4 separate regions of the Homo sapiens genome follow, and all the other regions are linked to region 1. Evidence: promoter capture Hi-C in 16 types of primary human blood cells and fetal thymus (Javierre and others, 2016). All regions are on one chromosome and are shown on one strand. The core of a region is centred on a gene start or on the middle of the fragment in contact, and the rest is flanking DNA. Distances in the headings are between cores, read along the strand shown. Region 1 holds the start of SMNDC1 (survival motor neuron domain containing 1). Region 2 overlaps SHOC2 (SHOC2 leucine rich repeat scaffold protein). Region 3 overlaps RBM20 (RNA binding motif protein 20). Region 4 holds the start of LOC124902499 (a long non-coding RNA gene).

Region 1 (3,541 bases), core at 606-3,105:
AAAGTGCTTAGAATGGTATCTGGCACATACAAACTGTTATTTCTTTGTGAAAATTAAAATTCAATATAGCTTTTCTTTATAAATGAATGTTGCATAGATAAAAACAATCCTAAAAACAATCCTGAAAAAATTATTAAGATGGTATAGAAATCTATGATGGAACTTATAATGAATATTTGCCTATTTTCTGATCTATGGGGTTCAGGAAAAGTTCTCATTTAAGAGATTTTTACACAATAAGGTTGACTTTATATTCAAGGAAGTTCCTCCTCGCATCGGTTCTTAAAACACACAATTACAATAACAGAAGTTCTCTAAAACTACATTTTATTTTAAACGAATATTTATTTAAAAGCACATGCTTTCTGTTTTGTCTGCCTTCTTAATTCTAGCTACACACTGCTGCCCTCTGCTGCAATTTCAATCTTTCACACTCACAAACCCGACCTAGTTTCCATCTATACAGGTTATCTGACTCACTGCAAGGGTTATGTGTGTGTGTGTAGAGAACAAAAGGGAAGGCTCCTTGAAAAGAAAACTAGGAACTAAAGATGTTGGCACAGTTCAAAAGAGCCCATCTGAGAAGTGGGCCTTTTTTTTTTTTTTTGAGACGGAGTTTCACTCTTGCTGCCCAGGCTGGAGTGCAATGGCACGATCTCGGCTCACCGCAACCGCCGCCTCCAGGTTCAAGCGATTCTCCTGCCTCAGCCACCCGAGCAGCTGGGATTACAGGAATGCACCAACATGCTCGGCTTTTTGTTGTTGTTGTTGTTGTTGGTTTTTTTTTTTTGTATTTTTAGTAGAGACGGGGTTTCTCCACGTGGTCGAGCTGGTCTCGAACTCCTGACCTCAGGTGATCCGCGAGAAGTGGGCCTTTTTATGGATCCAGCAACAAACTCCCAACCTCCCAGGAAAGGTTGCTTCCTGTCATCTATATAAAACTTTGTGTCTCAGGCCTTTATTGCTTTTTTAATTGAAATAAATTATATATATATGGTTTAAAAAAAAAAGAAAAGGAAAAAGGGTAAACAGCAAAGAGGGTAATCAATAAAACATTTGGCTTCCACTCCAAACCTCTGAACAGTTTTGTGTATCCGTCCAGAAAGCGTATATATTATTACAAACATACACAAGGGGCATTTCTTTTTGAACACAAATGTGAGTATTCCTACCACTCTTTACCATTCTAGACTAACTTGGACGTTGTTCCCTATCAGGCGAGATTAACCCAACTAAATTAAAACCAAGTAGGTTTTAACAAAACAGATTTTAAAGAAATCAATCTTCTCTCCAATAGGTTATTTCTGTCACGATTTAATTAGCTTTCTGTTACTACTAAGGCTTGTATCATATAAAGTAGTGGTTCTCAGGCTGGGCGCGGTGGCTCACGCCTGTAATCCTAGCATTTTGGGATGCCGATGCAGGAGGATAGCTTGAGCCCAGGAGCTGGAGACCAGCCAGGGCAACGTAAAGAGAGCCCCCACCAACACCCCCCGCCACCCACCACCACCGCCCCGGAAAAGCAGTGGTTCTCAAACGTCAGCGGACATTGGTATCATCTGGTGAGCTTATTAAAACAAGAGTCTCTGGATTCAGGAGGTCTGGGGTGGGGCTTGAGAATTTGCATTTCCAATAAATTCCAAGCCGGAACTCCAGGAAGATAACCTGCATTCCGCGCCTGGCGAAGCCCAGCTACGCCATTTCCTTCCTAGGCCCCGCCTACTTCGTGTCCCTGACAGCCAGGGACTGGCTAGAGGGCGCGCGGAGTCACGTGAGTCGAGCGACCTCGCGCGAGAGTTTGTATTTCTCGCGAGACTTCACCGTCTCTGTCTTTTCCTCCTTCCAGTGCCCGGCGTTCCTCCCTTCCCCCTCGCCGCCGACCGAGTTCTTCCTTTTCAGACCGGGTCGCCTTGCTGTCGTCGCGGTGATTTTCCTGCTACTGCTACTGCTGCTGCTGCCACCGCCACTACCACTGGGCTCATTTGCCCCGACCCCTTCCCGCCGCCCCGCCCCCAGCCCCACACAAGGTAACAACCCCCCTGAGGGAGAGAGTAAGGCCTGGCCGGGCCCGGGTCCCTCCCGAGGTGAAGCGGAGGCCCAAGGCTGAGGAGCCCGCCTCGCCGGAGACGCCCAGGCGCTGGCCCTGGATCCCGGAGCCACGGCCGTCTCTCAGCCAGAGCTGAGCCTCGGCGGCCCGGCCGGCGCTGGCCTCCGTGCGGCGGCGGCAAACACGGCCCGCAGGGGACCGGGTCGGGTGGGGCTGGGCGCCGCGCGGCTCCCTGTGGAGCCTGCCTGTTGGAGCGCGGCGGGGCTCCGGCGGTGGTCTTGGAGCTGGCGTGTGGATTTCCACGTCCGAATGATCGAGTTGTGGCGGGCTTTGAGGTGCTGCGTGGCGGGGAGGAGAGCAGCCTGGGTCGCTGTAACTCTTAGGGGGCCTTTGCAGGCTCCCAGCCTTTGGTTGGACGGGAATTTTACGAAGGAGAAGGGTCCTCGGAAACGTGGTACATTTGCTTATAAACCATCAAAAAAGGTTAATTGGTATCTTATTTTCAGGAAAATGACTGAGCTGGATTTGGCGAAAGGCACATTCGTTAGAATGCCTAAATGGGAGAGTACCTGTGCTGTTCTTTTTGCTGAAGATAATGCACCGATAAATATTTAAGCGACTGGGCGAAAGATTTTTGTTTTGGAGAGGCACTTTTAAATACACTCTTAATTGAATAGTTCAAGTAAAGATCGTAGTTTGTGTAGTTAATTTAAAAACGCACTTGTTTGGCTTTGGAAGCATACTGTAGTGCTTAAAAATAAGTATTTGGATTGTTTTTGAAAGTTTCGACTTTTCCAACAGAGTAGTGCTTTTTAAAAAGATAACACTGATTATTGAGCCGAATTCAGCACCTACCCTGTGGATAGGAGTTAAAAGAAAATTAGAAATTTCTTTGTATCTGTATGCTTTTTTAAAGTATGGAATGTATCTCAAGTTTATAATCCTCAGAATCTGTTGCCTTTAAGTTTGTGGTTTAGCTGAAGTCTAAACTGAGAGTAAAGGTAATGGTGGTAAATTAAGCTGCAGTGTTAGAAGGAGTTAGAGGCAAAAACTGGTAATTCAGGCAGACAGGGGAGTTAGTTTTTTATGCCTTGATTTTTGGTTTAGTTTTCATGGTCTAACCCTTTTTATTTTCCCTAGATGTCAGAGGATTTAGCAAAGCAGCTGGCAAGCTACAAAGCTCAGCTCCAGCAAGTTGAAGCTGCATTATCTGGAAATGGAGAAAATGAAGATTTGCTAAAATTGAAGAAAGATTTACAAGTAAGTATGGGTAGACAATTGTACTTTTTCTCTGTTTTTCAAATTATTGCTTGAATCCCTAAGTACCCAAAGCGCCTTTTGAGGGGTTACACCCCACCCTATGTATATATGTAAATTCTGTAGGTACCATTGCTTGTAGAAGTAGGGTTGCTTCCCCAGTTCTCAGGTTTCTGTACATCAGAGTGAAATATTGTTCTTTGTTATATAAATCTTGTGTGCTTACATAATTTTTAA
Region 2 (3,216 bases), core at 708-3,207, 670 kb before region 1:
CATGAACCCGGGAGGCGGAGCTTGCAGTGAGCAGAGACTGCGCCACTGCACTCCAGCCTAGGCGACAGAGTGAGACCATCTCAAAAAAAAAAAAAAAAAAGTGACAGGAATGGGGTAGAACAACGCTTTTCAGACTACAGATGGTGAAGGCCTGGTTCTTTGTCTTTTGCTGTTCCCAACTGGTTGTAGATGAATATTTAAAACACAAACTCACACACTTGGATGTCTCAGCAATGTCAAATTGTTATGTAAGATTCTAAATGCTTACTTTCAATTTCTGTTCTTAATTTGGGCAAACTAGTAACAAACAGTTGGTGGCCCAGTACCTGTCTAGTGAGTAGGCTACACCTTGACTAGAATCAGAACAACAACAAAATTCTCTGATCCGAAGATACTGAGCTTGGGTTGATAGAGAAGATAAGATGCAATTATGAGAGAGGAATGGAATCCACAAGGAAGAAAAGTTGAGCTGAAGTTACAGTTTGGTCATGAAGAATTTAAGATATCAGTGAGACATCTACGTAAAATATTTAGTGGCTAACTATGGGGGAAAAAGATGAAGAAAATGTTATCATGGTAGAACATTTTTGTCCTAAGAGAAAGCTGGATTTAACATCTGCAAACACTGAGCTCTGGCTAAGGGTGGTGAAGTCGTGTTGATAATTTAAAACTGTGGATAAAATACTTAAAGGCATACAGGGAGACCAAAGTTAAAACTAGAGGGAATTTACCCTTAAAAGAAGAGAACTGTAATAGGCAGACTTCTAAGATAACCCCCAATGGCCCTGCCTCATGAATAATTGTATACGTTATATAATTACCCCTCCCCTTGAGTGTGGGCTAAACTTAGTGACTTGCTTCTTACCAACAGAATATGGCAAAGGTGATGGGATGTCACATTTGTGATTCAGTTACAAAAGATTCTGACTTCCACCTTGCTAGCACTTTATTGATGTCTTAGCTTACACGCTTTGATAAGGCAAGCTGCCATGTTGAAAAGACCCATGTGAAAAGGAACTAAGAGCAGTCTCCAGCCAACAGCAAGAAATTGAAGCCCTCTCTCCAGCAACCTGCTAGGAACTAAGTCCTAACAAAAACTACATGAGTTGGGATGTGTATCCTTTCCCAGATGAGTCTTCCCAAGCCCTGGCTAACACTATAACTGAAAAACCTTGTGAGAGACACTAAATCAGAAGGTCCAGTTAAGTTGTGCCTGATACCCAAAACAAAGAAACTATAAGATAACAAATGATTGTTGTTATAAGAGTTATCTTTTAGAGTAATTTGTTACACAACAATAGATAACTAATACAGCAATCACATGAGATTTACTTTCATAAATGCCTTTTTATAAAGCTTTTACCATGAAGTAACTAAAAAATCTGCAGGTGAAAAGTAAATCTCAAGTCGAAGGCCAGAGTCCTACTGCCTAAGAAGCCAAAGGACAGAGTTCAGGGTTATAAGAGTGACTGGAATTCAAGGTTGGATACTCTGTAAAGGAGGAAATCACAAAGAGCAGAGCCCTAAAATCTTCAAATACACACTCCTCAAATTCTTGCTGACTCCGAAAATACATGTGGGAGAGGAGACTGCAAGGAGCCCAAGGGGAGAACCACAGCTAGAAGGCTAAAGGAGCTGAGCAGAGATTTCAACAGTTGCCAACTGTGGTCTTTAAGAGTTTGGATTTTCAGTCTTGTCAAGTTGCTGGAGAGTAATAAACAAAATTCCAAAAGGGCTATAACATAGGAGAGTAAAGATCACATCTCAAAACTAAGGAATTTACCCTAGGTTTAAGGCTATAACCAAATAGCATCACCCTTACAAGAGCTAAATCTAAGTCTCTACGGTCAAGGTGACTCAACAGCAATTTAACCGCCTAGCAGAACAAAATGTAACACTTTTCAGAGGATAATGGAATCCACAGGAGTTACAGTATTAGCTATTTATACTAGCCAATCAAGAATTACTAGACTGTCTTCTATTTACCACCATGATGCAACTAGAAAATGAACAAAATGTTTGAGAAAATGGTTTGCAGACTGCAGACAACAGCCATATATGACTGTATTCCCTTGTATCACAGGAAAACAACAGAAGTCCCATGATTGCCCCAGGTTACTGCCTGGAGGCAGGTTCCAGGTCACAGAAAAAGCAGGGAAGGAATATAGAACAAGGGCCAATAGTTATTACTAAGTTAGGGCAAACGATTTTAGTCTAGGAAAGCCAAGATGGTTAGAATTTGGGAGGCAGAACTGGAGACAGAAGAGAGCAGCAAATAGATTTGTGCAATCTGCAAGAAAGTCTTATGCAGTGTTTGCCTAAATTCTTATCTGCATTAGGTACAAACAGACTACCAAAGGCTAGGCAAAGACCTAGCAGCAGCAACCCAAACAATTCCCAGCAGTCACACAAGGTTGTGAATAGTGTGAATTCCTACCAGCCACAAAAAGACCTCATAATATATAGTTTATCAGGGAGTCATCAAAATTTATTACCTTAGTAGTGGGGTTAAATTAGATGTAGACAAAAGGCTACTAAAACTACCATAACAAAGCTTAAAAGCAAGCCACGAAAGGATTAAACTGACTACAGAAAAATTTAACTGTATGCCAGAACAAAGTCCAGCACTATTAAAAGAATACAACAAAATCCAAGACTCAACAATGTGAAAATGTTATGAAGCTCACATCCAATTAAAAATTACTAAACATGCAGGATGGGTACGGTGGCTCACGCCTGTAATCCCAGCACTTTGGGAGGCTGAGGCGGGCGGATCACCTGAGGTTGGGAGTTTGAGACCAGCCTGACCAACATGGAGAAACCCCATCTCTACTAAAAACACAAAATTAGCCGGGTGTGGTGGTGCATGCTTCTAATCTCAGCTACTCGGGAGGCAGGAGAATCGCTTGAACCCAGAAGGCAGAGACTGCGGTGGGCCGAGATCACACCATTGCACTCCAGCCTGGGCAACAAGAGCAAAACTCTGTCTCAAAAAAAAATTACCAGACATGCAAAGAAGCAGGAAAATATGACCCACAACCAGGAGAAAAATCATTCTGTAGCAACAAAAACAAAAATAAAAGAGGAAACTATAAGACAAGGACAGTGAAAAAGCTGTTAAACAATGAGCTCCATATGTTCAAGGTAAAGAAAACTTGAATAAAAATGACACCCAATGGAATGTATAGAGGTGAGAAATAAAATACCTGGTATGAA
Region 3 (3,434 bases), core at 231-2,730, 520 kb before region 1:
CATTTCAGATTTTTTATCTGTTAAATAAGGATAAAAACAGCACCTACCTCATAGGTGTTTTGAGAGGGTTAAATGTGATAATACATACAGATCCCTAGGGATGGTGCCTGCATGGGGAATGTTAACAATAAAAGCTTAGCTATTAAAATGGGAAAAAGAGCAGACAGCCTAACTGTTCACCAGCAGAGGAAAGATCAGTCATTTATAGCATAGCTTTTACGATGGAATATTTGCAGTGGTTAAAAAGAATGTGTTCTCTATGTACTGACATGAAGAAATGTCTAAGACCTGCTACTAAGTGAACTTGCAGAACATTATGTGTGTAGTGTGATCCCATTTTTGTGAGAGAAAAACTGGGCATGACAGTGGTAGGCTACCTCTGGAGACTGGGGAGAGACTGGAGGGAAGAGATCAATCAGACCTTTAATATTGACTTGATATGGTTCTTATTTTTTGAATTTGTTACAATAATCTTTCACACTTTCTATAATGAAAAACAGTAGTAAAACACAAATTACAAGGTAGCAGAATTTATTCTTAATTTTTGCTAGTATCAATTAGGTTCCAAGTTCTTGGATGACAAGAGACTTGCGTTATATTTCTTGGTTACCCCAGAGTGTCTAGCACAGTACCATGTTATCCAGTAAGTATTTGCTGACTGACTGAATGCATGAAGGAGCCCTCTCTTCTCCTGCAGGGTGGCCTTTGCAACTGTTTTCTAGAGCTAAAATACCCAGGGTCATCTCAGTTTATTCTAAAGTTAGTATTTCTTTTTCCTTCTTTCTTATGTTTTTGTCTTGGGAGATGCTGTGCAGCAAATTTATCCCTTAAAAAAAAAAGGAAGTTTGCTCTCCAGATCTGACTATAAAAATGGTACACCTGGAGGAAAGAAATAGTAAGAGATTTTTTTAAAGGAGAAGGGAAAAAAAGAGCAAGTTGGATGGAAAGGACGAGCCTCCACACTGACCAGCCCCTCCCTGCATGATCAGACACGTGGTCATCAGGCATCAGATGACCCGTGCTTTTTATGCTTCCTTGTGACACTTTCCCAGGTGACACTTTCCTGAGCTCTCCTTCTGAGCAGCTGCTACTACTACTTTATCTAATTCCGACCTTTCAGAGCTAATGCGAGGGGACTCAAAGATGATGTAGGCTGGAGTTGCTGGGTTAGTGGTTGTGTCAGAATCTCCCAGGGAACTTTCTTAAAGTGCCTTCACTCCCTACCCTGAGACTCTGCTTAACTCTTCTCTTTGAAAAGGGATTCATTCCTAGGTGATTCCATCAGTAAACTCCCTCCCCACTTCATTCCCAACACTTCCACCATTGAAAAAATCGCTGTCTAAATTACAGAGAGGAAACTAAGGCTCAAGAAGGGGTATGACTTACCTGAGGGCACACAGTCACCCATAAGTAGGAAGAACAGAAACCCAGGTCTCCCTGTTCAATACCCTTTCTATGAACTAGGGGTAGTCTGCCCCAAACACATTCTATTCAGCATCATTGCCTCAGAAAAGTTGGTCCTTTAAAGAGAAAAAAATATGTAGCATTGTTCTGGGAAGGACTGGAGCAATGAACAATAGCAGACGAAGTTCATTTTTGTTGACTTTATGGAGGCTGCTGGGCATCTGCTTTCCTGCCTGAATAAAGGCTAGGCTTAAAGACTCCATGTCATCAAGAATAAAGCATTCCCTGACAGGAAAAACAGGACTTCTTAGTTCTGGGTCCCAGGGCACTGTTATTCAAGGCTGTTTTCACGGAGTATCTGGTCTATTACGGGAGACTGAAATTGCAAGAAAGTTTACAGCCGCCCCTTGCAAATCTAGGTTATTGCATCATACACTTAAAATAACGATAGGCCGGCCAGGTGAAGTGGCTCACACCTGTAGTCCCAGCACTTTGGGAAGCTGAGGCAGGAGGATCACTTAAGCCCAGGAGGTGAAGACCAGCCTGGGCCACATATGGAGACCCCATCTCTGCAAAAAAAAAAAAAATTAAAAAAATTAGCCGGGCCTGGTGGTGTGTACCTGTTGTCCAAGTTTCTCAGGAGGCTGAGGTGGGAGGATCACTTGAGCCCAGGAATTTGAGGCTGCAGTGAGCTGAGATCATGCCACTGCACTGCAGCCTGGGTGACAGAGTGAGACCTTGTCTCAAAAGAACAAAAAACGATGTCAACAACAAAATGCCAAAAAGCTCTCTCAAGCTCTTGAGGTTGCTATGGAACTGTTATTTCCTAGACCTGAATTTCAGGAAAGACTGTGTGTTTTGCTTACCTAGAGGAATGCTAAGTTCACTGAACACATCCTCTGGTTCCCAAGAGGGCAAAGAAAGGGGCTGTTTCAGTTCCACTTCAGTGTACTCTGGTGACCTCACCTCCAGAGATTTCATTTCCACGTACCTGGAGTTTTCTGCAAAACATGAACCAAGGCAAAAAAAAAAAAAAAAAAAAAAAAAAAGAAATACAACATGCCTCAAAGAGTCCCTGAAATTCTATGCCTGCATAGTATGATTGGGAATTGTTCCTTGGACTGCTTAATCACATAAGGCTGGGGCAATGGTTGCTAATTAGAACCAAAGCACTGTCATTAGGAGCTTTTTCCACTGCCAAAAGAATGCCACACACAATAAAACTTGGCAAATGTTTGCATTTGGCCCAGGGGGATGGGCTGCTGATGCCTTCAGTTGAGAAGATCCACCCCCCACCCCCCATGCCTCCCATCTCAGTATCATTCCATCTCTGCAGGCAGAGGAATTACTGACGGGCAAAAATTGTGCTGACGTCCACCGAGGCTAGCAAAACAGGCAATGCCATTCTCTCCCCAAGCTTGTCAAGCTGTTATTAAATATGAACCCCAAACACTGGGTCAGTTAATGAGCCTCTAACACTGGCACATGTTGAGACCTATACCGCAAAATAAAAGGGGCTTGATTGGAGTGAGGTGAAGATTTCACTCCTCCTTTATTCTTGCCTTCTCTAGACAGAGCCTGGGCCTCACGGTTTCTCTAGCAACAAGAAGGCATTTCACGGCGGGGTTTCCATGGAAACTCAGATCCGTGCAGGTAAAAAACAGCTCAGGTCAGCTTGACATGGAAAAAATCCCAAGCCTCCCAGTTACCTAACAGCTCATGCCACCCACAGGGCCCTGGGTTGAAATGTTCATTTTTAAGCCTTTCCTCTGTATTTTCTGCCCCTGACTCTCACTTCAACCTCTGGTGTGCTACAGGCTTTCTGTAAAGCAAATCCCTAATTATTTTCACAGTGAGAATCTTAAAGGCTACTCTCTCTCCCTCCCCCCAAACCCCCTGATGGATCTTAAGTTCCACTTGGCAGAGAAGACGGGGCTTAGCCTATTTTAAACTCTCTCTTTCATGATGTCACAGTGCCGGGCATAGGCACAAAACGTCACCTCCAATGGAGTGAGAGAATATCCTGAAAC
Region 4 (3,465 bases), core at 375-2,874, 550 kb before region 1:
CAATTCCAGCTCTTAAGGAGTTCCCAATCTACTGCCCTAAATACTGCCGAGGCCATTTCCCTCTCGAGTTTCCACTTGGGTCCTTCTTGGCCTGAGCTCCCTCTCCTCCCCTTTTCCCTCTGGGAGCAGACTCCTGCTGGCAAAAGGCTGGTGGTCTCCACTTCCCTTGCCTCCTGCCAGTGTAGGCAATGCAAACTTCTCACTGGAAAACACCATGCCTTCTGGACAAAGGCTCTGTGTGATGTTCTAGGACCTGCCCGACAGGCCTTCTGTGAAAAGACCCAGCTGGGGTAGCTGTGCTGCCAGGCCTTGGATGGGCAGAGTTCATAAACAGCTTCTCCAGCCATGGAGCTCCAAATGCACCCAAGCCAGGTGCTGCCTACCTCAGTGTCCAACCAGCCCCAGGGCTTGGCCAGACAGAGTCCTGTTCTGGGAAACCAGCAGGGCAGCTGGATGTTCAGGGGCGGAGGCTGTAGGTGGGCTCCTTCACAACAGAAAATAAGCTTCTGAGTCAGGCAGACCCTGCTTTAAATCCCTTTAAATCTACCACCTTCTACCTTCCTGACATTAGGAAAGTGGCTTCTAGCCGGGCGCGGTGCCTCATGCCTGTAATCCCAACATTTTGGGAGGCCGAGGCAGGTGGATCATGAGGTCAGGAGTTCAAGACCAGCCTGGCCAACATGATGAAACCTTGTCTCTACTAAAAATACAAAAATTAGCTGGGCGTGGTGGCACATGCCTGTAATCCCAGCTACTCAGGAGGCTGAGGTAGGAGAATTGCTTGAATCTAGGAGGCAGAGGTTACAGTGAGCTGAGATCATTTCACTGCACTCCAGCCTGGGCAACAGAGCAAGAGTCCATCACAAAAAAAAAAAAAAAAAAAAAAAAGAGAAAGTGACTTCTGCTGCCAGAGCCTCAGCTCCCTCACCTATAGATGAAACTCATAACATCTACTGTCCCTAGCCCAACACTTGGATCTCAGTCTCTTCATCTCCTGAAATAGAAGAGTTGGACCACATGACCTTGAGATTACTATCTGAAACACTTCCTATGCAGGCTGGGGTGAAGGTGTCCTTCCTGCTCCTGGGTTCAGTGAGGAATTTAGATGTCTTTCTCAAGGTAAGTTCATCCCTGTGGGAGAGTCCCTGGTTTAATTCAATAAATTTTATTGGGCACCCCATAATGCATACCATACTAAAGCTTCAACGTACAAAGATAAACAAGCATAGGCCCTGCCCTTAAGGAACTGATAGACTAGGCCAGCAGGAATGATAAGACTCATAAAAACAACCATTGTACATAGTGGAAAGTGATAAGTGCACAAGGAGGGGTACAGATAAAAGACCAGGAAGGTTGAGAGCAGGCAGAGGGTGACTCTGGGCTGGGAGGGAGCTAAAGATGTGGCCAGTCCATAAAGAGTCTTGAATGAGTTTGGACTTTATAGGGCCAACTGTTGAAAGCTCTTAAAGGTTTCTGACCAGGCAGTGGGCAGATCAGAGCCATGGGGGCTGGAGCTTTTTGTTAGTCTTCTACCATCTGGAGTAGTCAGACCGTAGAATTTCTAAAAGGGAAAGGGCCCTTTTCCACCATTTTCACAAGGGTTTTGTTCCCTGGATGAAACCGTTCAAGATTTGCATAAAATGTGCAGCTGTCAATGGCTGCCCTTTGTTCTGGCCCTGAATCTTCTGCAGCATGATGCCTACTGTCTTTCTTCTCTGTGCCCTCTCACCCAGCTGTCTCCCTGCATGAAAGACAAGAGAATGAGGCACATGGGGCAGGAGGCCGGCACCCAGCTCAGGGAAACAGTCCTGCCTCAACAAAGTCCCCTGGGACCTTTGCTGCCGTACCGCCTTGCCTTGGCCCAGGTCCCAGGATTATGGGAGAGAGTTGGCCTGTTGAGGAGAGAATGTGTCAGTGAGTTGCAGTGCCTTGAGTCTCCTGAGACGTGTGCGTGTGTGTGTTCAGGACTAGGTGTTTTGCAGCTGATTTCAATCTAGGTCAGAATTGTGCAACCCTCAGCACGTTGCTATCTAGAGAAGATAAGCTTGAACAATCCCTTCCAGGACCAGCAGCGATAAACTACGGCTCTGAATGTAAACACAGCTGTTTGGCAAGCTCTAATTTCTGGAAATGAAGGGGCCTGCTGCATTAGCAGAAGGGATCCAGGTGTATCATGGAGTTGTTTAAACCTCCCAGAGGGGCTACTGCTGACCCTCTCTTCTGAAGAAAAGTCCAGGAGAGGTGCTGGTGAGCTTTGCCCCAGTCACGCTTCTACCACTTGGCTCATCCAAGCCAAAACTGACAGGGCCATGGATGGAGGAAGACACCCACTCACTTGCCATGTGGCCTTGACTGAGTCATCTTGTCTTATTGGCATCCATGTCCCCATCCGTAAAATGGAGCTAGTGCAGTAAAACCACATCAGTGTGAAAGCAAAGAAAATCTCAAAAGACCTGTGAACGAGCAGAAGAAATGACCTCTCTTATCAGTCTATCCCCTTTACTCAGATAAAAATCCCTTAGAGCTCCTCCTGGAGCCTGTGTTTTCTTGGTTGTTTTTTTTTTTTTTTAACTTTTTTTTTTTTTTATACTTTAAGTTTTAGGGTACATGTGCACATTGTGCAGGTTAGTTACATATGTATACATGTGCCATGCTGGTGCGCTGCACCCACTAACTCGTCATCTAGCATTAGGTATATCTCCCAATGCTATCCCTTCCCCCTTCCCCCTCCCCCCACCCCACCACAGTCCCCAGACCAGAGTGTGATATTCCCCTTCCTGTGTCCATGTGATCTCATTGTTCAATTCCCACCTATGAGTGAGAATATGCGGTGTTTGGTTTTTTGTTCTTGCGATAGTATACTGAGAATGATGGCTTCCAATTTCATCCATGTCCCTACAAAGGACATGAACTCATCATTTTTTATGGCTGCATAGTATTCCATGGTGTATATGTGCCACATTTTCTTAATCCAGTCTATCATTGTTGGACATTTGGGTTGGTTCCAAGTCTTTGCTATTGTGAATAATGCCGCAATAAACATACGTGTGCATGTGTCTTTATAGCAGTATGATTTATAGTCATTTGGGTATATACCCAGTAATGGGATGGCTGGGTCAAACGGTATTTCTAGTTCTAGATCCCTGAGGAATCGCCACACTGACTTCCACAATGGTTGAACTAGTTTACAGTCCCACCAACAGTGTAAAAGTGTTCCTATTTCTCCACATCCTCTCCAGCACCTGTTGTTTCCTGACTTTTTAATGATTGCCATTCTAACTGGTGTGAGATGATATCTCATAGTGGTTTTGATTTGCATTTCTCTGATGGCCAGTGATGATGAGCATTTTTTCATGTGTTTTTTGGCTACATAAATGTCTTCTTTTGAGAAGTGTCTGTTCATGTCCTTCGCCCACTTTTTGATGGGGTTGTTTGTTTTTTTCTTGTAAATTTGTTTGAGTTCAT

Evidence for each region. The method cuts DNA at HindIII sites, captures the fragments that hold promoters and counts their contacts. A CHiCAGO score of 5 or more calls a contact.
Region 2: a contact is called between a fragment that was not itself captured here and the fragment with the promoter of SMNDC1 in region 1, in 4 of 17 cell types (activated CD4 T cells, monocytes, fetal thymus and 1 more). The highest score is 6.9, in activated CD4 T cells.
Region 3: a contact is called between a fragment that was not itself captured here and the fragment with the promoter of SMNDC1 in region 1, in 5 of 17 cell types (naive B cells, M1 macrophages, M2 macrophages and 2 more). The highest score is 7.4, in naive B cells.
Region 4: a fragment that was not itself captured here is called in contact with the fragment with the promoter of SMNDC1 in region 1 in 14 of 17 cell types (fetal thymus, M1 macrophages, M2 macrophages and 11 more); the score reaches 17.9 in fetal thymus.

Annotation. Positions count from the first base shown.
Region 1 is chr10:110,303,234-110,306,774 of GRCh38, reverse strand. SMNDC1 (survival motor neuron domain containing 1) reads left to right here and starts at 1,855. Exons shown (of 6, transcript NM_005871.4): 1 at 1,855-2,027; 2 at 3,188-3,307. The coding sequence starts at 3,188. RefSeq lists a silencer at 2,024-2,343. The HindIII fragment of the contact is 6,895 bases long and covers 1-3,541 here.
Region 2 is chr10:110,977,043-110,980,258 of GRCh38, reverse strand. All of the region lies in intron 2 of SHOC2 (SHOC2 leucine rich repeat scaffold protein), which reads right to left. Among named protein-coding and RNA genes, the nearest start is that of MIR548E, 10 kb to the left of the region's middle. The HindIII fragment of the contact is 1,198 bases long and covers 1,359-2,556 here.
Region 3 is chr10:110,822,451-110,825,884 of GRCh38, reverse strand. It overlaps RBM20 (RNA binding motif protein 20), which reads right to left. Exons shown (of 14, transcript NM_001134363.3): 12 at 2,271-2,405. Among named protein-coding and RNA genes, the nearest start is that of PDCD4-AS1, 47 kb to the left of the region's middle. The HindIII fragment of the contact is 2,687 bases long and covers 137-2,823 here.
Region 4 is chr10:110,856,290-110,859,754 of GRCh38, reverse strand. It overlaps LOC124902499 (a long non-coding RNA gene), which reads left to right and starts at 898. Exons shown (of 2, transcript XR_007062287.1): 1 at 898-1,119. RefSeq lists enhancers at 1-380, 1,666-1,795, 1,836-1,965 and a cis regulatory region at 1,801-2,170. The HindIII fragment of the contact is 844 bases long and covers 1,203-2,046 here.